7 separate regions of the Homo sapiens genome follow, and all the other regions are linked to region 1. Evidence: promoter capture Hi-C in 16 types of primary human blood cells and fetal thymus (Javierre and others, 2016). All regions are on one chromosome and are shown on one strand. The core of a region is centred on a gene start or on the middle of the fragment in contact, and the rest is flanking DNA. Distances in the headings are between cores, read along the strand shown.

Region 1 (3,043 bases), core at 7-2,506:
GACTCCGTAGAGAAAGGGCCATACACCCTCTTGGGATTTGAGATTTGCAGGAGGCCAGGGCGCCAGGAAGGTGTGCAAGGAGGTGCACCCTCCAGGGACAGCTGCTAGCTCAGAACCCCCACCAGAACCGGCTGGCCAGTGCCCCACAAACCCACCCAGCCCCCCGGGACTGTCCAGGGAACCCAGCGAGAGATGAGCCCCACAGCCCATCTGGGACCATGGCCCGCCCAGCTGGCCTGGCTCAGGGATGGGGGTTTGCTGCCAGCTCGGCAGCTGCAGCCCCACCCCGCCGCCACCCCCTCGGGGCTTCCCTGGAGGCAGATTTGGCCCCGGAGCCCAAGGGAAGTAGGAGACCCAGGGCCGCAGCCACCCAAAGGCAGACGAAGACCTGATCTCGGCCTCTAGGTCCTGTGCTGTTTGCCAGGCGTCCTCGAGCCGCCGATCGTGGCAGGAACGCGTGCGCGGCTGTGCAGCGGGTTGGAGGCCAGGCCGAGAGAGCTGGTGGAGTCCACCGGGCCCCGGAGCACAGGTGCTTCCAGGCACCCAGCAGGTGCTCAGCAGCTGTGACCAGAGCCCCCGACCTCCTTAAGAGCCAATTTGGCGGCTGTGGGGCCATGAGCACCGCCCCCGTCCTCTAAAGGGGGCTGCAGCTGCAGGCCAGTCCCTCCTGCCCCTATTTCCCTATCTGAGAGTATTTTTAAGCCCTGCTGGGGCAGGCGGGAGCCAGGCCGAGTTGAACCTGACCTGGCTGCCCCAGGAAGCAGGGGGTTCCCACCTAGGCTGCCCCGTTCCTCTGCAGATGGTCATTCGCGGGTGCAGAGGGCACCTTCCCGCAGCCAGCAGGACGGACGCTGTTGGGGGAGGAGCGGGGGCAGCCGAGTGGTGCACCCAAGTTAGGGGAACAAAGAGTGGGCCCCTGGGCTGGGAGGAGCTGGTGGGCGCTCTGGGGGCCAGGGCGTCGTGGGGAGCGCTAGGGTCCCACCCGGGACCCGGAGCTACGACCTGGGCTGGGGGCCCGGCGGCGCCGTCGTCCCACGGCCTGGCCCGAGGCCAGCAGGTGCCCCTTCCGGGAGGCGGCCGGGCCGGGGTCCGAAGGGTTAAGGCCGCCCGGCCGCCCCTCCCCCTCCTCTCTCCTTCCCCCCCCCACCCCGCCTCCCCGGACCTCTCCCCGGGGCTCGGGGCTCGGGCGCTCGGGCGGGCCGGGGCGGGGCCTGACGTCCGCGGGCGGAGCGAGCCCTGCCGGCCGCCTGGCTTCAGACCCGCCGGGCTCCCGCCGCGCGCGCTGTCCCTGGAGCTCGGGGACGCGGCCCGGAGCCGGGAAGATGGCGAAGCGGCTCTGCGCGGGGAGCGCACTGTGTGTTCGCGGCCCCCGGGGCCCCGCGCCGCTGCTGCTGGTCGGGCTGGCGCTGCTGGGCGCGGCGCGGGCGCGGGAGGAGGCGGGCGGCGGCTTCAGCCTGCACCCGCCCTACTTCAACCTGGCCGAGGGCGCCCGCATCGCCGCCTCCGCGACCTGCGGAGAGGAGGCCCCGGCGCGCGGCTCCCCGCGCCCCACCGAGGACCTTTACTGCAAGCTGGTAGGGGGCCCCGTGGCCGGCGGCGACCCCAACCAGACCATCCGGGTGAGCGCAGGGGCGGGCCGTGGGGCTTCCTCCCGGGGCACTCGGACCCGGAACACCGGCCCGACCCCAGGGGGAGCGCCGTGGCCCGGGGCGAGTCCAGGTGCGGACTCTCTGGTTCCGCATTTTGGGGGCCCAAGAAGGCACCCCGACCCGGCCGCTCCGTCTCGGCCGGGAAACTTCGCGTCCCTCCGGGAAGGCGGAATTAAAGTCCCCGGCATGGACCCGGGGGCGGCTGGGCGCCGGTCCAGTTCGACTGCGGTGACCGGGGCGGGAGGGGGGCCGGGCCCAGTCCCTGGCGGCCCCAAGTCCGGGATCCCGGGGAGGGCGGGACTTGGCCTCCGCCGCCTGCTGCCGGTGGGGAGGGGGCGCAGCTCCGCCCTACCCGGGACAGGCTGGAACCTGTTGGCCTCTGGATGGGGTGGGAGGGGCCAGCCACCTGAGGCTCCCACTAGCCCCTCTCGGAGGAGTCTAGGGACTCGAGGAGACCTCCAAAGTAGGGGAGGGCCAGCTGCGAAGTTTTGACTGGGGCTGGGAACACGTGGCTCCCAGGAGGGGCAGCATCTCTGCCCAGCAGGTGGTAGGGTCCGGGGGCTTCAGTCTCCCTGGGAGATGTGGGTTCAGGCCCTGAAGACCCCCTGGGGTGCATGTCCCCTCCCCAACAAGCCTTAAACCTGTAGGCGGGTTCTGTTGGTGGACTCCATGCATGGACACCTCACCTGAAAACCAAGGCTCTTGGGGCCCTGTAGACTTAGGTTGGGCCTGGGGTCAGCCTTGGGTGAGGAGCAGCAAAGTCAGCTCCAACGGCTCCCAACCGGCCGCTCTAGGCCCATTCCCCACCTCAGCCCCACCTTAGGGAGAGTCTAGGGGCCCTGAGGGCCTGTGTAACCTGAGCTGTCTCCTCCCTGGTACCTCTGCCTTCCCGGAAGGAGAGGCTGGGGCAGGGGCGAGTAGCTGGAGATTTGCTGGGTGGGGGCAGAGGGCCCTGGAGCAAGACGTTATGGGGATGAATGGAGGAGCCTGGGCTGGGCCCGCCCCCTCTGCCTGCCCCACCCCCTTGGCCCTGGTGGAGGGGGAAGGAGCCTCCCCAGGCTTCTGGGCTCACCGTTCTCTCCTTAAGCCCAGCACAGTCCTCTGAGATAGGAGGTCTCAAGCCCACACTTCAGATGGGGGATCTGAGCCCTGGAAAGCTGCTGACACCTGCTTGGAGCCCCCCAGCCAGAACAGGGTCCAGCGGGGGTTAGCTGTGGGAACCTGGGTGCCTCCTGGCTGCCCCCTTATCTGGTCAACTCAGAGGGGCCGGGTCTCAGGACGGAGGGCCTGTGACTGTCTCCTTACCTGCTGCCACACCTCACCACAGAGGGCCTGGCTGAGTGTCCCCAGCTGAGATTTTGCCGTTCTGGCAGGGGAGGCTCCAGGTGCCCTGT
Region 2 (2,827 bases), core at 33-2,532, 450 kb before region 1:
CAAAGGGGTGAACTGGACAGACTGGAAGGAGGCTGTGGCCATTGAGGCCGAGCTGGGCAGGGGGGCAGAGGGTGGGTCATGGGGGGCTCTTGGTGCAGCCCTCCACAGCCCTCCACGGGGACCACACAGCGTGGACAGGCCCTGAGGGGACTCCTGCCCTGGTGGTGGTCACATGGGGAGGTTCACCCCAGACGGTCCCTCCGAGGGAGGCACAATTGTAGAATTTCAGCCGCCTCCTCCTGCTGCTTGGCCCACACCAGTCCTGAGATACCCATAGGGGACATCATCTCAGGACTGAGTCGGCTCCTAAGCCCCCTCCATGGCTGGCTCCAGAGCCCAGCAGCCTCCAACAAGACCCCCGGCCCCCAACCACCCAAAGGACGTGCCTCTCCCCACTTCAGCCAGAGGCCAGAACCCCGAACACAGGGGCACGGGCCCCTCAGGGGACCCAGAGACACACACCTCAGTGCCGGCATTCTGGGTGGAGGACCACCACATGACACCCTCCACCCCTACCCACCAGCAGTCCCCGCAGGGCCACCCCCATCCCGTGAAGGCACTGGCTGTCCCCTGATGTCACCCCGGCTCTGGGAGGTGGGGCCTGGTTTTCTCTCCATCAGGCCGGGGAGCTCAGGGAGGTGGGGGCCAGAGCCAGAACCCCAGAGCGCTCGGGGCCCTCCCCACCCCCAAACTCACGTCAATGCCGTCCTGGCCGGGCTTCCCGGGCGGCCCTGGGGGGCCGGGGGGGCCGGGGAGTCCCACTCTCTGAAACGGAGAAAACTCATTAAGGAGCGCAGGTGCCCCCGTGGGCCTGACCCGGCGTCCCCTCCTCCCGGGTCCCGAGCGGCTCCGGGGCCTGCGACGACCGCCGCTCTCCTCGGTGAGACCCAAAGCCTCGGGCGGAGCCCGGCGCCCCCGCGCAGTGTGTCCCCCGCCTCCCTCCGGCGGCGGGAACAAAGGCCCCCTTGTGCTCCCAGAGGAGGCGGCGGCGCCGGCCGACCCGGGCCAGCGAGGACCCATCGAGGACGCGGCCGGACGGGGCTCATCCCGAGGCGCTGGCGACTCCGCGCCCCGACGGCGACACGGGCTGGGGGCGTCGAGGCTGCGCCGGGCACCCCGGAGTGGCGGGTTCGGGGCTGGGGCGGTCGCGGCTCCACGTCCAGCCTCAGAGCCCGGAGCTCGCGCTCACCTGCGCCCCGGCGGCCGCCAGAAGCTCCCCGAGCAGGAGCAGGAGCAGGAGCGGGGCGCACGCGCGCGGCCCGGCCATGGCTGAGCGGAGTCTGAGCTGCGGCGTCGGGGCGGGCGGCGCGCGGGCGGGCGGGGCGGGAGGTGGGCGGCCCCTTCCCCTTCCCCTTCCCGCCCCCGCCTGCACAAGCCCCCCATTCAGCCGGGCCCACCTGGGCGGGGGGGCTTCCACCCGCCCCGCGCCGCCGCCCAGCCCGCCTGGGCGAAAACAAAAAAGACGCCGGGCGGGCGGCGCGTTCTCTCCGGCCGCGAGTTAAAATTATCCTGGGACTGGCGCGTTGCACACACGCAGCTTTGAGCAAGAGAGAAAGACGCTCTTTTCTCTCCTTGCTCCTCAACCCGAGTGTGGGGGCGGAAGCGCGCGGCGCTGAAGGGCCGCCTTCAGGGAGGGGCAGGGGAGACCCGCGAGTTTCCGAAGCCGCAGACCCCTCCCCAGGCGCCGGAGCGGACCCAGGCGACCCAAGGCCCAGGAACACCCCGGGGAGGGTGAATCCCCGGTACCAGGGCCCGGTCAGTGCCCAGCGCAGCCCTGGTTCCCGCTCCGGGGTCACTGTCCAGCGCTGCCTGCTGGGCTGGGAGCACCCCCACCGCGGCCCCTCACCCGTGGACCTGGACGGGCCGGGTGGTCAGGCCACGTCAGTTGCTACCGGCTAAGACCAGACTCCAAACCCAGACTCCCAGGAGAGATCGCAAAACGATGACCCTGGCCGAGGGGAAGAACCCCTCCCCGGGATCCCCGGCCTGAAGGAACCGTGCCCTGGGCAGGAACCTGAAGGCGGTGCTGGCCATGTCCATTTCCCAGAAGCTCAGGGGTCGCCAGGTCCGGCCAAGCTCTGCCTCAGGCTGCCAGGGCAGTCGCTGCCCTAGGGGACTCAAAGCTTCCAGTTGCCTGTAGGCTCAGTGAAGGCGCAGATGCCAGCCCCTCCCCCAGGAATCTTGAAAATTCCCGAGAAAGGCTGCCCTGGGGGTTGTAGGGGGCTGCAGGAGCTTCCTTTCGGCAGGTGGGGACTCATGACTGTTGCAATGCTGTGAGTTAGCAAGGGCGGGAGGGGATGAGAGGGGAGTGGGCGCAAAACTGCTCAGCAGGAGCACCGCACTCTGGCCGGGCGCAGTCAGCCTGGCGACAGAGGGAGGCCTCATCTCTACCAAAAATTGAAACATCGGCCGGGCGTGGCCAGCTTGGAGACAGAGGGAGGCCTCATGTCTACCAAAAATTAAAACATCGGCTGGGCATGGTGGTGCTCGCCTGTAGTCCACGCTACACGGGAGGCTGAGGCAAGAGGATCGCTTGAGCCTGTAAGGTCGGGGCTGCAGTGAGCCAAGACGGCGCCACTGCACTCCTGCCTGGGCAAGAGAGTGAGACCCTGTCTCAAAATAATAGTGTCGCTCTAATCTCTCCCGCGGTGAAGTGAGTGGAGGGAGATTCTCCCTTCACTGCTGGGTGAGCGCGGTGGCTGGGCTGGGAGGGGTGTGTGCGAATTCCATCAGGCGAGGTGGGAGGAGCTGAAAAGGCCCACCCTCCTGAGGAGTCCAAGTCATCCTGGCACAGAGCTTCCTAACAGAGGACTTTTGATTACGGGGA
Region 3 (2,948 bases), core at 65-2,564, 500 kb before region 1:
GAAGCAGATGCACATTTGGACGGTTCGATTGGATGCTGCCTATACATTGTGTATAAACTGAAGTTAGGGGAGGTACTCACCACAGTTCCTGCCATTGGTTTTAACATGGAAAGAGTAGAATATAAGAACACTTGTTTTGGGCCAGGCACGGTAGCTCATGCCTATAATCCCAGCACTTTGGGAGGCCGAGGCAGGCAGATCACAAGGTCAGGAGTTCAAGACCAGCCTGGCCAATATGGTGGAACCCTGTCTCTACTAAATATACAAAAATTAGCCAGGCATAGTGGTGGGCTCCTGTAATCCCAGCTACTCGGGAGGCCGAGGCAGGAGAATTGCTTGAACCCGGGAGGTGGAAGTTGTAGTGAGCTGAGATTGCGCCATTGCACTCCAGCCTGGATGACAGAGCGAGACTCTGACTCAAAAAGAGAACACTTGTTTCATGGTGTGGGATGTTCATGGTCAAGATGTAATTAGGCTTCTCTGGAAGCATTACTTCCAGAATACCCAGGGTTTTCTTTTGCTGGTAGATAGCAACGATCATGAAAGAATTCGGGAAGTGGCGGACGCGCTGCAGAAAAGGCTTCTGGCCGGTGAGTGTGGAGACGCAGCGCCACTGCTCTCTGCAAACAAACAGGGTTTGCCCAGCGCTCGGGCCATCAGTGTGACGACAGATGAGCCAGCCAGCTCTTCAGTCTCTTCCTAACAGGACATGGTATGTTCAAGCCACTTGTGCAACACGGAGCTGGTGTAGATGAGGGACTTGACTGGCTGTCAAATGAGTTTTCAAAACGTTAAATGAAACTAGACATCTAACCAAAGACATGTTTGATAAAATTGGTCTAGACTTGCTACAGCAAAATTTGTTTGTATCTTGGTTAAGAAACAGCATCTGGGACTGGCTTGGGCAGAATAATAAACTTATTTTGTTGCCAATTATTGTTTGCCAAATATAATGTTGTTATTTAGCAATGTGCTTGGTTTTAAAGAAATTCTTCTTGGGAAAAAGGTGTCCTCATTTACTTCCCATGAGCCTAAAGCCTGGACATAGTTATTGTAAAACCTTTAAATAAATCCACCTTGGAAGTTAAGATACATAAAAATAAATAAGGTGGGGCGTGGTGGCTCACGCCTGTGGGAGCACTGTCTGTGAGGAGGTGAATCCCTTGAGCTTGTTGGAGACAAGGCTGGGCAACATGGTGAACCTTGCCTCTATTTAAAAAAAAAAAAAAAAAAAGGCCGTGCACGGTGGCTCATGCCTGTAATCCCAGCATTTTGGGAGGCCGAGGCGGGGGGATCATGAGGTCAGGAGATCGAGACCATCCTGGCTCACATGGTGAAACCCCAAACCCCGTCTCTACTAAAAAAATTAGCTGGGCATGGTGGCACGTGCCTGTAATCCCAGCTACTCGGGAGGCTGAGGCAGAAGAATCGCTTGAACCCAGGAGGCGGACGTTGCAGTGAACCAACATCGTGCCACCGTACTCCAGCCTGGGTGACAGAGACTCCATCTAAAAAGAAAAAAAAAGAAAAAAAAAATTCGGCTGGGCACGGTGATTCACACCTGTAATCCCAGCACTTTGGGAGGCCGAGGCAGGCAGATCACTTGAGGTCAGGAGCTCGAGACCAGCCTGGCCAACATGGTGAAACCCTGTCTCTACCAGAAAAATACAAAAAATAGCCAGGCATCGTGGCATGTGCCTGTAATCCCAGCTGCTTGGGTGGCTGAGGTAGGAGAATCGTTTGAACCCAGGAGGCAGAGGTGGCAGTGAGCCGAGATCGCACCACTGCACTCCAGCCTGGGTGACAGAGCAAGACTCCGCCTCAAAAACAAACAAATAAATAAATAAATAAATAAATAAAATAAAGCACTGACTCACCATTTTCTTTTCCCAGATTATCCAGAGCACTTGGGCAAAAGCCTCCACCCCATTTTTACTAGAATGTTCAATGGCAGCCTTGGTTCCAGAGGCACTTGGTTGAATTTTGCCCATTGATGCTCATTTGCATGAATTATCAGCGCCTCTTTCCCGTGAGAAACGGTTACCAATGCTTTTAAATCAAAGGCAATCAAAGATCCAGCTCCAGAAAACCCAGAACCAGCTTTGATCACTCCACATCACGGAACAGAAAAATCAATTGGCCCAGGAGTCCAAGAAGCTACAGGAGGATGAGAGGAAGGGGAGCAGTTGCCGGCAGGCCTGGTGACCCTGCCCTGCTCAACCTTCCAAGAATTTGAGAGAGAAAGAAAGAAAAAAAACCCTGCTTGCTGCGGTCTGAGTTTGTATCCCTCCAAGATTCATACTGAAACCTAATCTGCACTGTGGTGGCATTAAGAAGAGGGGTCTTTAAAACAATGGCCGGGTGCGGTGGCTCACGCCTGTAATCCCAGCACTTTGGGAGGCCGAGGCGGGCGGGTCACCTGAGGTCAGGAGTTCAAGACCAGCCTGACCAACATGGTGAAACCCTGTCTCTACTGAAAATACAAAACTATTAGCCAGGCGTGGTGGCACGTGCCTGTAATCCCAGCTACTCAGGAGGCTGAGGCAGAAGAATTGCTTGAACCCGGGAGGCAGACGTTGCAGTGAACCGAGATCATGCCATTGCACCCCAGCCTGGGCAATAAATCGAGACTCCATCTCAAAAAAATAAATAAATAAAAAATAAGAAGAGGGGCCTTTAGGAGGTGACTAGGTCATGACGGGAGAGCCATCATGAATGGGATTAGTGCCCTTTTACAAGAGGCCTGGGGGAGCTGATTTTCTCTCTCTGCCACATGAGGATGTGGCAGGAAGGCAGCATCTGAGCGGAACAGGCCCTCATCAGCCATCACATATGCTGGTGCCTTGATCTGGGACTTTCCAGCTTCCAGAACTAGGAGCAATACATTTTTGTTGTTTATAAGTGACCCAGTCTAAGGTGTCTTGTTATGACAGCACAAATGGACTAAG
Region 4 (2,886 bases), core at 327-2,826, 430 kb before region 1:
AGGTCGCACAGACCAGAGGGAGAGACCTATGTCATACTGATGGCCGGTGTGGCCCTGAGTCCAACGTGGCTGGCACAGACTCTCCACCAGCACAGGTCCCCACTCCTCCTGGTCACCTGACCCCTGACCCCCACCCCACTCTCCAAGTACACCACCTTCTTTGAGCTCCTGGACCCACCACCTCCTGCTGCCACAGGGCCTGGAACACCCACCTGTCTCTTCTGGCCACCCTGCTTACCTAGTTAACCCGCTCGCCCGTCACACAGTGCCAGCTCCAAGCTCTGCGAGGACTGGAACTCTACTTGTCTGACTCCCACAGAAGTCACCAAATTCACCTTGGTGTGACTCAGATAGGGTCACCCTCTGCCTAAAGCACTTCGGGGGCCTCCCAGGAGGCTGACAATGGCCTAAGGGCCCGGGACTCTGCATCCTTCCCTCCCTCCCCAGGGTCTCAGCTGGAGACTCTGGCCCAGCACCCAGTCTAAAGCAGAGCCCCTGAAAAGCTAGCCAGCTGCTAGCACTGTGTTTGTGCTTTCCATGACAGGCTCTGGAGCCCCGGGATGTCCTCCTTAAGGACGAGCCTCACTGCAGGGGTCTCTGCCCAGGGGACCCCAGCAGGCACGGAGGGGCCTCTGCCCAGCTCAGGCTGACCCTGAGAGCTCACTGCAGACCCCAGCAGGCATGGAGGGGCCTCTACTCTGCCCAGCAGACCCCAGCAGACATGGAGGGGCCTCTGCCCAGCTCAGGCTGACTCTCAGAGAGCGGTGTGCGGGTTCGTGCCCCCATCGGGCGGCACAGGGAGGGCGGTTGGGCTCACCAGCGCCTGCATGTCGTACATGGTGCTCAGATGGTCCCAGATGACCTTGGATGGGACCTGCCGCCCGATGTTCTGGCTGAACTTGTCCCGAATACAAATCATGTGGAAGTGTCGGTTCACACCTGAGGGGAGGAGGGGCGGCGGGATAACCGGTGAGCGGTGAGGAGAAAGGGGATGGAGGGGACGGGCTGCCCTGGGGACTGGAGGGGCAAGGGTGGCTGCGGAGAGATGGGGAGGGCCAGGGTGTGGAGGGGCTGTGGGGGGGCAGGGCTGGGTGGTGTGTGTGGGAGGGGGTGGGCTGTCCCGGGGCGGGGGTGGGGGTGGGGCACTGCGGGCTGGGACCTCGCGGTCTCACGGGGGTAGGGGTCGTGGGCGGGGTCCGGGGCGGGGTCCGAAGGGCGCGTGGGAGGGGGCGGGGGTCCCGGGACGGGTGTGGCGGCGGTGTCACGGCCCGGGCTCGGCGGGGAGCGTGGGGGCGAGGGTGTCGCGAGCGCAGGCCCCGCCCCGCCCCGCCGGTTGCCCGCCCCGCCCCCACGCGCGTCCGCAGCCTGGGCGCTCACCGACGGGCTTGTGGCCCAGCATGGCGTGGAAGAGGCACACCTCCACCTCGGGGCTCCACACCACTGTCTCCTCCGCCGGGCTGGTGGCCGCCTCCCCCGGGCCCTTGTCGCCTGCGGCGCCCCCGCCGCCCACCTCGGCCTCTCCCATGGCCGCGGCCCGGCCGAGCAAGGAGCCCCCGGCGGGAGCAGGCGCGGCCACGAGCTCCGCGCAGGCGCACTCGGGGGCGGGCGCGCGCTCCGCCGGGTACGCGCTCGGGCTCACGCGCCGGCGTCGGCGCAGGCGCAGCCGAGGTCTCGGGTCCCTTCCCGCCGGGGACTCCGCCCTGCTCCGCCCCGCGCGGGGGTTCTTAAAACGTGTTCCTCTTTAAAGCACAGTAAGAAATACACTGCACCCAAACAAAAAAGTCTGTGCTTCAAAGGAAACCATCAGAAAAGTGAAAAGACGACCCACAGATGAGAGAAAATATTTGCAAATCCTATATCTGATAATGAACTTCCTTGTAGAAGGTATAAATAATTCTTATAACTCGATAATAAAAAGACAATCTAACTATAAAACGGCTAAGGATTTGGATACACATTTTTCCAAAGAAGATGTACAGATGGGCCGGGCGCGGTGGCTCACGCCTGTAATCCCAGCACTTTGGGGGGCCGAGGCGGGCGGATCACCTGAGGTCAGGAGTTCGAGACAAGCCTGGCCAACATCGTATAACCCCGTCTCTACTAAAAATACAAAAAAAGTAGCCGGGCGTAGTGGCGGGCGCCTGTAATCCCAGTTACTCGGGAGGCTGAGGCAGGAGAATCGCTTGAACCCGGGAGGCAGTGAGCCGAGATCGCGCCATTGCAATCCAGCCTGGGCAACAAGAGCGAAACTCCGACTCGAAAAAAAAAAAAAGATGTACAGATATGGCTAATGAGCACCATCGGTCACGCGAAACTAGAATCAGCCCGCGTGGGGACCCCCTGCCCCGCCGAGACCGCCACAACCACGCGGCCGGGGTGACGAGTGCTGCGAGGGTCAGGGCTCGGGACCCTCGTGCGGTCGTGCTGTGCGGTCAGATGGGCCGCTGCTGCGAAAGACAGTCTGGCCGTTCCTTCAACGATGGAACCGTCTCCCTAGGAAGCAGCAGCTCCGTGGCGGGCGCCCGCGGCAGTGGAACAAGACACAGGTTCAGGCTGGGACCCGCAGCCGCGAGGCAAGCGCCGCCCCCAACCCGGGGCTGAACCTGCGAGGGGCGCCCGGAGCGCGGGCACCCGCACGGCGCAGCCGCGTTCAGCCTAAAAGCAGCGAGCGCGGACTGCGGCAGCGTGGGTGCGGGCTGAGACGAAAGTCAGAGAATTCAGACACGAAAATACACAGCATGGGAATCCATTCACAGGAAGAGCCAGAACTGGCAACTCCATAGGAATAGAAAGTAGATGCACGGTTGCCGGGGACGGGGGAGGGGGAGGGAAACGCGAGTCACTGCGGATGGGGACCGGCTTCTTTTTTGTTTGTTTTTGAGGCAG
Region 5 (2,851 bases), core at 20-2,519, 330 kb after region 1:
TCCAGTGAGTCATTTTAAGAATTCATCTTGTGCCTTCTTAAATAAATTTTTGCCTAACCCAAGGTACAGGAGTTTTCTAGAATGCTTATGGCTTTAGCTCTTACTCAACCCAATTCAAGTTAATTTTGGGAGAGTTGTAAGGTAGGGGGTTGAGACTCATTTTTTCTGTGGTTACCAATCATGCCAGCCTTATGTGTTGAGGAGACCTTCCTTTCTCTATTGAACGATGCTGCTGCCTTTATTGAAACTCAGTCGGCCACGTGTGAGGACGTCACTTCTGGGATGTGTTCTGTCCACTCATGTCCTTGTCTTCCCTTCTGCAGCTCAGCACTTTCCAGCCCATTTAGAGGGAGTGTTGATGGGTGGCAGGAGTCCTCCAGTGCTGCTTTTTCGAAAACGTTGAGGGCTGTTCTGGTCGTTTGCATTCATGTGTTTCAGAATCAGTTCGTCAACTTCTACAAAAAAAGCCTCTTGATACCTTGATAGCTTTTTGTTTGTTTTGAGACGGAATTTTTCACTCTTTCACATCTTTTCCTGGAGTGCAGTGGCACGATCTTGGCTCACTGCAAGCTCCGACTCCCGGGTTCAAGTGAGTCTCCTGCCTCAGCCTCCCGAGTAGCTGGGATTACAGGCACGTGCCACCACACCCGGCTAATTTTTGTATTTTTAGTAGAGATAGGGTTTTGCCGTGTTGGCCAGGCTGGTCTTGAATTCCTGACCTCAGGTGATCCGCCTGCCTCAGCCTCTCAAAGTGCTGGGATTACAGGTGTGAGCCACTGGGCCTGGCCAATACCTTGATATCTTGCTTGGGATTGTATTGAGTCTATAGATCGGTTTTATGATCATTGATATCTTAGCAATATCGAGTGTTCTGATTCACGAACGTGTTGTACCTCTTCATTGATTTAGGCCTTTCAGGATTTTTCTCAGGGTTGTTTCAAGTTCTCAGTGTTTGTATCCTGAACATACTTTGTTAAATTTATTCTTAAGTATTCATATTTTATGCCATGTACGTGGTCCTTTAAAAAATTTTGTTTCCAATTGTTGCCAGTATTTAGAAAAACAATTGCTTTTGGCCGGGCGCGGTGGGTCAGTGGCTCGGTGGCTCAGTGGCTCATACCTGTAATCCTAGCACTTTGGGAGGCTGAGGCGGGCGGATCATGAGGTCAGGAGATTGAGACCATCCTGGCTAACACTGTGAAACCCTGTCTCTACTAAAAATACAAAAAATTAGCTGGGCATGGTGGCACACGCCTGTAGTCCCAGCACTTTGGGAGGCCGAAGCTGGTGGATCACGAGGTCAGGAGATCGACACCATCCTGGCTAACACTGTGAAACCCTGTCTCTAGTAAAAATACAAAAAATTAGCCGGGCGTAGTGGTGGGCTCCTGTAGTCCCAGCCACCTGGAGGCTGAGGCAGGAGAATGGCATGAACCTGGGAGGCGGAGCTTGCTGTGAGCCGAGATCGCGCCACTGCACTCCAGCCTGGGCGACAGAGTGAGACTCCGTCTCAAAAAACCAAAAAAAAAACAACAAAAAAATTGCTTTTAAAAATAGTGACTTTATAGCTCTTCCCCAAGCGGCCTGAGATGATCTGTGAAAATGGTTCATTAGTCACTTGACCCAGAAATCCCCACAAAATCGTGCAAATCCAGAGGTTCAGGTCTTCTTGATCACTTTAAGAACGCTCGTGAAACTGCCCAGGCCATCAAGGGTATGCATACGTGAGAAGTCACCAAGTGTCTGAAAGACGTCCCTTTATAGAAACAGTGTATGCCATTCCGACTTGGCAGGGGTGGAGCTGGCAGGTGTACCTAGGCCAAACAGTGGGGCTGGACACAGGGTTGGTGACCCGAAAAGAGCGCTGAATTTTTGCTGCACACAATTAAAAATGTGGAGAGTCACACTGAATGTGAGGGTGTAGATGTAGGCTCTCTGGTGTTTGAGCACCCAGGATGCGCTGTGGGACTTCCAGGGCTGGTGGTCGGGTTCATCCATACAGGGCGCCCCGTCACATTGAGACGATCCTCACGGTAAAGACACTTGTTCCCAAGCCAGGTGAGGAAGTTGCACAGAGGAAAACTGTACCAGAAGAAACTGAAGAAACAAAAACTTGTGGCATGGGAATAAACTCAGCATACAATAAATGCAATTAAAATAAAAAAAATTGACTTTATATCCTGTGGATTTCTTAGGATTTTCTTCAAAGATAGGCGTGATCTGCAGTAAAGAGTGGTTCATGTCTTTTTTTCTGGTCTGTGCACCTTTTATTTCTTGTTCTTGTCTCATTGCACTGGCCACAACCTCCAGTGTAATATGACAAACAGAAGCGTTGAGAAGGGACATTTTGCCTTGTTTCTGATCTTGGGGGAGGCAGTCTGTCTTCTCTCATGACGCACATGATGTCAGCTGCAGGTTTTTCATAGAGGCCCTGTGTTAGGTTGAGGAATCCCCTTCTGTCATAGGCCATTCTGGCTGCTGTAACAAAATACCATAGACTGGGAGGCTTCTAGACACCGGAAATTCATTTCTCACAGTCCTGGGAAGTGCAAGATTGCCATGCTGGTGAGGGCCTGCTGCCTGCTCCCATGCAGCTTCTTGTGTGTCCTCAGAGTGTGGAAGGAAGGGGCAAGGCAGCTGTGGGACAGGCTCTTTCATAAGGGCGCTAATCCGGTTAATGAGGGCTGGGCCCCCAAAGTCCCCCCGCTTCTGCTACCATCACCTTGGGGATTGGGTTTCAGCATATGAATTGTGATGGCATTCAGTCTATGCACCTTCTTTTCCTAGTTTGGTGAGAATTTTTGTCGTGAGTGGATGTTTATTTTTGTTAAAATGCTTTTCTTCCTGTATT
Region 6 (2,807 bases), core at 195-2,694, 350 kb before region 1:
TACCTCTAAGAGAGCAGGACCATTTTGAAAACCATACCCACAACAGCTCTGGACAACAAGAATTTGTAGCTATTCACTACCTAGGCTTTTTTGCTGTTTCTTGGCAGGAAGAATGATCAGCTTTGGTGCCGGCTTTCTGCGACAGGTTGACTTGTCCGAGTCTTTGCTAAGAAACCAGGCCACCGTCTCCGATTCCCTCACTGTTTGTAGAACAGAACGAGTTGTTTATTTGGAGCTGTTTCTTGTGGTCTGGGTTTTGCTGGCTGCATCCTAATGGTACATTTGTCCCTGTTCCTCTGTCCCTGGTGTGTCCTGTGTGTTGGATCAGGGGCTCCATGAGATTCAGATTCAATGGCTTTGCTCCAAGGATGCCACGAGGCTGTGTGCACACCAGGGCTCACCTCACACCTAACTCTCTCCCCTTCGTGACCCCAGCAGCTGTCAAGAATCCATGCCTACATCCATTGATTTATGAGGATTGCACCTGATGGGTGGTATTCTGACCATCCTGCTCCTTCTTCACTTATTGATGAACATTTCTGGGCTGAGACACTGCCTTTTATCTACTCTTGGGTTATTCTAAAGTACCGTTTGAATAGAAAAGGCAGGAAAAATACTCCATTCCTTTCCTCTAAAGGGTCATGGGCTCAGACTGGAGGAAGTGTGTGACTCTTGGCCCCACACCAACAGCCCTCTATGCCCTGCGCTGCAGGTGAGGACACTGTGGCCGCTACGGCCAGAGCCAGAGCTGCCCACAGCTGCGTGGCGTGGGTCCCCTTCCCGTCCTCACGGGAGGTCAGAGTGGAGCAGGCTGTTCCTAAGGACCCCTTGAAGAACTTCTTCTGCAACTTTTTTTTTCTTTGAGACAGTTGTCACCCAGGCTGGAGTGCAGTGGTGTGATCTTGGCTCACTGCAACCTCCGCCTCCCAAGCTCAAGCGATTCTCCTGCCTCAGCCTCCCAAGTAGCTGGGATTACAGGCATCCTTCACGACGCCCAGCTAATTTTTGTATTTTTAGTAGAGATGGGTTTTCGCCATGTTGGCCAGGCTGGGCTTGAACTCCTGACCTCAGGTGATCCGCCTGCCTCAGCCTCCCAAAGTGCTGGGATTACAGGTGTGAGCCACCACGCCCGGCCTTCTGCAACTTTCTAACTTGAAAAAGTTCCTACTGCAGAACAGTTGCAGGAAGAATGCCCAGGACACTCAGCTGCCTGTGGCAGGGCTGCAGCCCAATGCCGCATGACCCGCAAGCAGTCTCCTCCCTTGATTCACTGTCTGCTTGCTCTCCTTCCATTTGGCCACACCTTTCTTTCTGAATGATTTGAGAATAAGTTGCAGACTCCACACTCTAAACACCTCTGTATCCTTCCTAAGAACAAGGATGCTGCCTGTGGAGGTTGCTGGGCACAGCCTGGGGCACGGGACAGGAGCCCTGAAATAATCCATGGCCAGATTTCACTGGAACCTGTCTCCTTCCCTGTCTCAGCCGCCTCTCCTTTCCCGGAATTCTGCCAGCCCTGAACGGCTGGGGTGTTTGCCAAGTCGCCCTGTGATCTGTCTGCTCCTGGACGCCTCTGGAGCAGGGGTTGTAGGACACCAGCGCCTCCTGCACAAATTGAGGCCCCTGTCTGCCCCTGGGAGGGAGCAGGTGCCCTCTGAGTTGGGGTCTAACCCAGCGAAGAGCACTGCTGTTTGTACTCAATATGAAGAAGGCTTTCAGAAAAAACAAGGAGGAGGCAGGGAGGCTGAGCCTGCAGGAGCAGGACTCCCTTGGTGCAGAAAATGGCAATGATGAAAGGAGTCCTCACGGCTGCTCAGGAGGGTCTAATGGACTCGTGCCTGTGAGGCTGGGAGGGTTTGCTTTCGTGTGTGGCCATAGTCAGGGGCGGGTCTCTAAAACTGTTTCAAAGGCTGCAGCCACCTCATCTGATTTGAATCGGACACCTGAAGTCCCAGGCCCCTGCCACTGTGGGCCCCTGGACACACACATGTGTGCACACGTTCAGTATACACGCCATGGACAGATGACAGATAAGCATGGGACTCTGATGACCCACCATCTGGGCCATCAGCCCTGAGCCCTGCCACACAGATCGTGTGCCACTGGGACCCTGTCACAGCCGAGGTCAAAGCTGAGCTGGAGGTTGGGCCTGGGCCATGGGGGACCATCCAAGAAGCAAGGGCCATCTGCCCGTGTGGGGCCACGTGTGCGGGTGGGTTAGAGGATGGGTAGGACAGTCCAGGGGAACCCAGGGGCACCCGTAGGTCCCTGAGCCCCCAGCTCCTCCTCCCAGTCACCCTGCTGGCACCAGGGCCAGGTCTGGGGCCTTTGGGAGGGTCCTGGGCACCAGGTCCTGTCTGCTGACCTGAGAGCCCTGCCCACTCCACCATCAACTCCCAGTCCCAGCTACACACTAGGAAAATGCCCAGCTGGCTTCAGGGAGGATTATTGTAAGTTGCTCCAAAGTGTTATCACTGAACCACCTCATTTCTAAACACAATTTCTGTTTGCAAGTGCCCAGGCCAAAATTTCGTAGGAGACGCTGGGGCAGGAAAGGACCCCTGTTTTGGAAAGAGGGGCCATTTGATTGGCCACTGCCCCAACACTTCCAAACATGGTCACTGAGAGGGAGACACTTAGCTCAGGGTATCCAGCCCCTCTTCAGCCAGACATCACCATCTGAAAACCGTGGATGTTTGCCCAGATCTGCCAATGGCCCAGAAGCCCACGTGGGGACCGTAAACCCCCTAATTCCGGGGAAACCTTTCATAAAATGGCAAATGGCGGGGCAGGGGTCAGGGGAAGCC
Region 7 (2,888 bases), core at 184-2,683, 300 kb after region 1:
CCCCCAAACACTGTTCCCCTATAGGGGAGGCACCTCTCCTAGGCTCCGTCCTCAATGCTCATTGGCTGCTGCTGCTGTCGAGAAACAAGCCTGGGGTGAAGTCCCGTATTCCAGTTATCAGTAAGTCCATTCCTTTGCAAGGCTACAGTTCGAACAGGCACAAGGGTCCAGTTCGGGTCTGCTTTCGAGACTAGCAGTCTCCTTTGTTAAAGCAATTAAAAAAATCATTTTCTTTGTCAGCAACGTCATTCATCGTCCCGAGGTCTCTGCTTATTGCGGCGCTGTCTTCAGCTGCGAAGACTGACCCTGTGGCCTCTTGGCCCCAGTGAGGTCCGAGGCAAGGAAGCGTCTCTCTGAAACCTATTCTGGGCTCTTAGGAAGAAATGAGAGAAAGGAAAACCACTAGAAATGTCCAATAACACCATCTTTTGGTTGGAAAATAAAACACGCAGAAAGAGGGGACTGGAACTTTTACTGAAGTATTTCTAGAGAGAAGGTGCTTGGGAACACTTTAGGTAACTTACTCCCCTCCCCCAGCAGAAGGTAAAAAAAGCTACTTCCAGACGTGCCGGCTTCAGGCTCGGGAACTTCGTTTGGCGCCTGGCAAGCACCGTGCTCTTACCTACGGGCTTATACGACACTCCTGTCTCCAAGGCAGCTGGGTGCGGGGACAGTCAGCCCGGGGCGGCTGGGTTTATTGATTAAAAATGGAGGGAAGGGCCAGGGGTGGTCACGATTGGAGGGCGAGAAGAGCCGTGCGCGCAGGACCCCTCCCCACCGCCCGGGACCGGCTGAGCCAGAGGCGGACCCAGCTTCCCCGCGGCGGCTTGGAGGGGCCGGGCGCCGGTCCCCGTCCCCAGGGCGCGCTGCGACAGTCCCCTCCCCGTTCCCGCCCGCCTCCCAGGCCCATCCACTCCAGGGCCTGCGCGCCGCCCGGCGGCGCCCCGGCATCCCCGCGCGCTGTTCCCCGGGCCTCGGACGGGCCCTGCGCCGCCGCTGCCACCGCGCACGGCGCCCGCCCGGCGCTCCCGTCAGCGCCGCCGCAGCCATTTTGGAGCGAGCCGAGACAAAGAGCGAGGCCCCGTCGCCGCCCCGCGCCCGCCTCGGCCCGGCCCAGCGCACCGTTCCCGCATCCCGCGCCCCGCCCGGCGGCCCCCTCCCCGTCCGCCACCGCCCCGGCGCCCGCGCCCCTGAGCTCCAGCCCCCGCGCTTCCCGCCGCTGCTGCCGCACCCCGGCCGACCGCCCGCGCCCCGGCCTCTAGCGCTCGCAGCCATTGGCCGCGCCTTTTAAGCGCGCGCCGCAGCCAATCGCCGGGCGCCCGCGGTCTCCGCGCCTGCGCAGGGCCGCCACCCCCGCTCCCCCGCCCCCCGGCCGCGCGCCCCCGCCCCCCGCCGGCCGCGCGCCGCCCCCCGCCCGCCCAGCGCCCGCCCCAGTCGGAACCTCCTCCTCGCCCAGGCGCGCTCGGCCCGAGCGGCGGCGGCGGCGGCGGCCGAGGAAAAAAGATGGCGGCGGGCTCGGATCTGCTGGACGAGGTCTTCTTCAACAGCGAGGTGGACGAGAAAGTGGTGAGCGACCTGGTGGGCTCGCTGGAGTCGCAGCTGGCGGCCAGCGCGGCCCACCACCACCACCTCGCGCCGCGCACGCCCGAGGTGCGGGCCGCGGCCGCCGGCGCGCTCGGGAACCATGTTGTGAGCGGCAGCCCGGCCGGAGCCGCGGGCGCAGGGCCGGCCGCCCCCGCCGAGGGCGCGCCCGGAGCGGCGCCGGAGCCGCCCCCCGCAGGTAGAGCGCGGCCGGGGGGCGGGGGGCCGCAGCGCCCGGGCCCCCCCTCACCGCGCCGCCCCCTTGTCCCCGCAGGGCCCGCGCCGCCCGCCGCGAAGCTGAGGCCGCCGCCCGAGGGCAGCGCGGGGTCCTGCGCCCCGGTGCCCGCCGCCGCCGCCGTCGCCGCGGGGCCCGAGCCCGCCCCCGCCGGCCCCGCCAAGCCCGCCGGCCCCGCCGCGCTGGCCGCCCGCGCCGGCCCCGGCCCCGGGCCCGGCCCCGGCCCCGGCCCCGGCCCTGGCCCTGGCAAGCCCGCCGGCCCCGGCGCCGCGCAAACTTTGAATGGGAGCGCCGCGCTGCTGAACTCGCACCACGCCGCCGCACCTGCTGTCAGCCTGGTCAACAACGGGCCCGCCGCGCTGCTGCCGCTGCCCAAGCCCGCCGCCCCCGGCACTGTCATCCAGACGCCCCCCTTCGTGGGCGCCGCCGCGCCCCCCGCGCCCGCCGCGCCCTCGCCCCCCGCCGCCCCCGCGCCCGCCGCCCCCGCCGCCGCCCCGCCCCCGCCACCCCCCGCGCCCGCCACTCTGGCCCGGCCGCCCGGCCACCCCGCCGGACCCCCGACCGCCGCGCCCGCCGTGCCGCCCCCCGCCGCCGCCCAGAACGGGGGCAGCGCCGGGGCAGCCCCCGCCCCCGCCCCGGCCGCCGGGGGCCCCGCGGGGGTCAGCGGCCAACCCGGGCCCGGCGCGGCGGCTGCGGCGCCGGCGCCGGGGGTCAAGGCCGAGTCGCCCAAGAGGGTGGTGCAGGCGGCGCCCCCGGCGGCGCAGACCCTGGCGGCCAGCGGCCCGGCCAGCACGGCGGCCAGCATGGTCATCGGGCCAACTATGCAAGGGGCGCTGCCCAGCCCGGCCGCCGTCCCGCCGCCCGCCCCCGGGACCCCCACCGGGCTGCCCAAAGGCGCGGCCGGCGCAGTGACCCAGAGCCTGTCCCGGACGCCCACGGCCACCACCAGCGGGATTCGGGCCACCCTGACGCCCACCGTGCTGGCCCCCCGCTTGCCGCAGCCGCCTCAGAACCCGACCAACATCCAGAACTTCCAGCTGCCCCCAGGTGAGTGGCCGCACGGGGCGGGAGG

The links. The method cuts DNA at HindIII sites, captures the fragments that hold promoters and counts their contacts. A CHiCAGO score of 5 or more calls a contact.
Region 2: the fragment with the promoter of COL9A3 here is called in contact with the fragment with the promoter of LAMA5 in region 1 in 1 of 17 cell types (M0 macrophages); the score reaches 5.9 in M0 macrophages.
Region 3: a contact is called between a fragment that was not itself captured here and the fragment with the promoter of LAMA5 in region 1, in 1 of 17 cell types (neutrophils). The highest score is 5.1, in neutrophils.
Region 4: a contact is called between the fragment with the promoter of MRGBP here and the fragment with the promoter of LAMA5 in region 1, in 5 of 17 cell types (erythroblasts, naive B cells, M0 macrophages and 2 more). The highest score is 7.7, in erythroblasts.
Region 5: a contact is called between a fragment that was not itself captured here and the fragment with the promoter of LAMA5 in region 1, in 1 of 17 cell types (neutrophils). The highest score is 6.2, in neutrophils.
Region 6: a fragment that was not itself captured here is called in contact with the fragment with the promoter of LAMA5 in region 1 in 1 of 17 cell types (M1 macrophages); the score reaches 5.0 in M1 macrophages.
Region 7: the fragment with the promoter of TAF4 here is called in contact with the fragment with the promoter of LAMA5 in region 1 in 1 of 17 cell types (neutrophils); the score reaches 8.8 in neutrophils.

Annotation. Positions count from the first base shown.
Region 1 is chr20:62,365,525-62,368,567 of GRCh38, reverse strand. It overlaps LAMA5 (laminin subunit alpha 5), which reads left to right and starts at 1,256. Exons shown (of 80, transcript NM_005560.6): 1 at 1,256-1,619. The coding sequence starts at 1,323. RefSeq lists a silencer at 1,133-1,572 and an enhancer at 1,752-2,451. The HindIII fragment of the contact is 18,996 bases long and covers 1-3,043 here.
Region 2 is chr20:62,815,505-62,818,331 of GRCh38, reverse strand. COL9A3 (collagen type IX alpha 3 chain) reads right to left here and starts at 1,282. Exons shown (of 32, transcript NM_001853.4): 1 at 1,190-1,282; 2 at 697-765. The coding sequence starts at 1,267. RefSeq lists enhancers at 1-353, 1,042-1,727, 2,416-2,827. The HindIII fragment of the contact is 2,563 bases long and covers 1-2,125 here.
Region 3 is chr20:62,870,097-62,873,044 of GRCh38, reverse strand. All of the region lies in intron 1 of LOC105372717 (a long non-coding RNA gene), which reads right to left. It also overlaps the pseudogene ARF4P2. Among named protein-coding and RNA genes, the nearest start is that of TCFL5, 9.7 kb to the right of the region's middle. The HindIII fragment of the contact is 6,367 bases long and covers 1-2,948 here.
Region 4 is chr20:62,795,163-62,798,048 of GRCh38, reverse strand. It overlaps MRGBP (MRG domain binding protein), which reads right to left and starts at 1,576. Exons shown (of 5, transcript NM_018270.6): 1 at 1,378-1,576; 2 at 818-939. The coding sequence starts at 1,525. RefSeq lists a silencer at 1,270-1,809 and an enhancer at 2,433-2,886. The HindIII fragment of the contact is 13,279 bases long and covers 1-2,886 here.
Region 5 is chr20:62,036,708-62,039,558 of GRCh38, reverse strand. All of the region lies in intron 1 of TAF4 (TATA-box binding protein associated factor 4), which reads left to right. It also overlaps the pseudogene RPL17P48. Among named protein-coding and RNA genes, the nearest start is that of MIR3195, 27 kb to the left of the region's middle. The HindIII fragment of the contact is 5,228 bases long and covers 1-2,851 here.
Region 6 is chr20:62,712,146-62,714,952 of GRCh38, reverse strand. The region is part of intron 1 of NTSR1 (neurotensin receptor 1); the gene reads right to left. Among named protein-coding and RNA genes, the nearest start is that of NTSR1, 4.7 kb to the right of the region's middle. The HindIII fragment of the contact is 5,011 bases long and covers 1-2,807 here.
Region 7 is chr20:62,064,426-62,067,313 of GRCh38, reverse strand. It overlaps TAF4 (TATA-box binding protein associated factor 4), which reads left to right and starts at 1,433. Exons shown (of 15, transcript NM_003185.4): 1 at 1,433-2,863. The coding sequence starts at 1,504. MIR3195 (microRNA 3195) reads right to left here and starts at 2,512; the gene lies at 2,429-2,512. LOC105372705 (a long non-coding RNA gene) reads right to left here and starts at 860. Exons shown (of 2, transcript XR_936960.3): 1 at 623-860; 2 at 1-372. RefSeq lists enhancers at 144-657, 1,686-2,200, 2,201-2,714, 2,715-2,888 and silencers at 653-1,032, 1,293-1,402, 1,663-1,752. The HindIII fragment of the contact is 9,555 bases long and covers 1-2,888 here.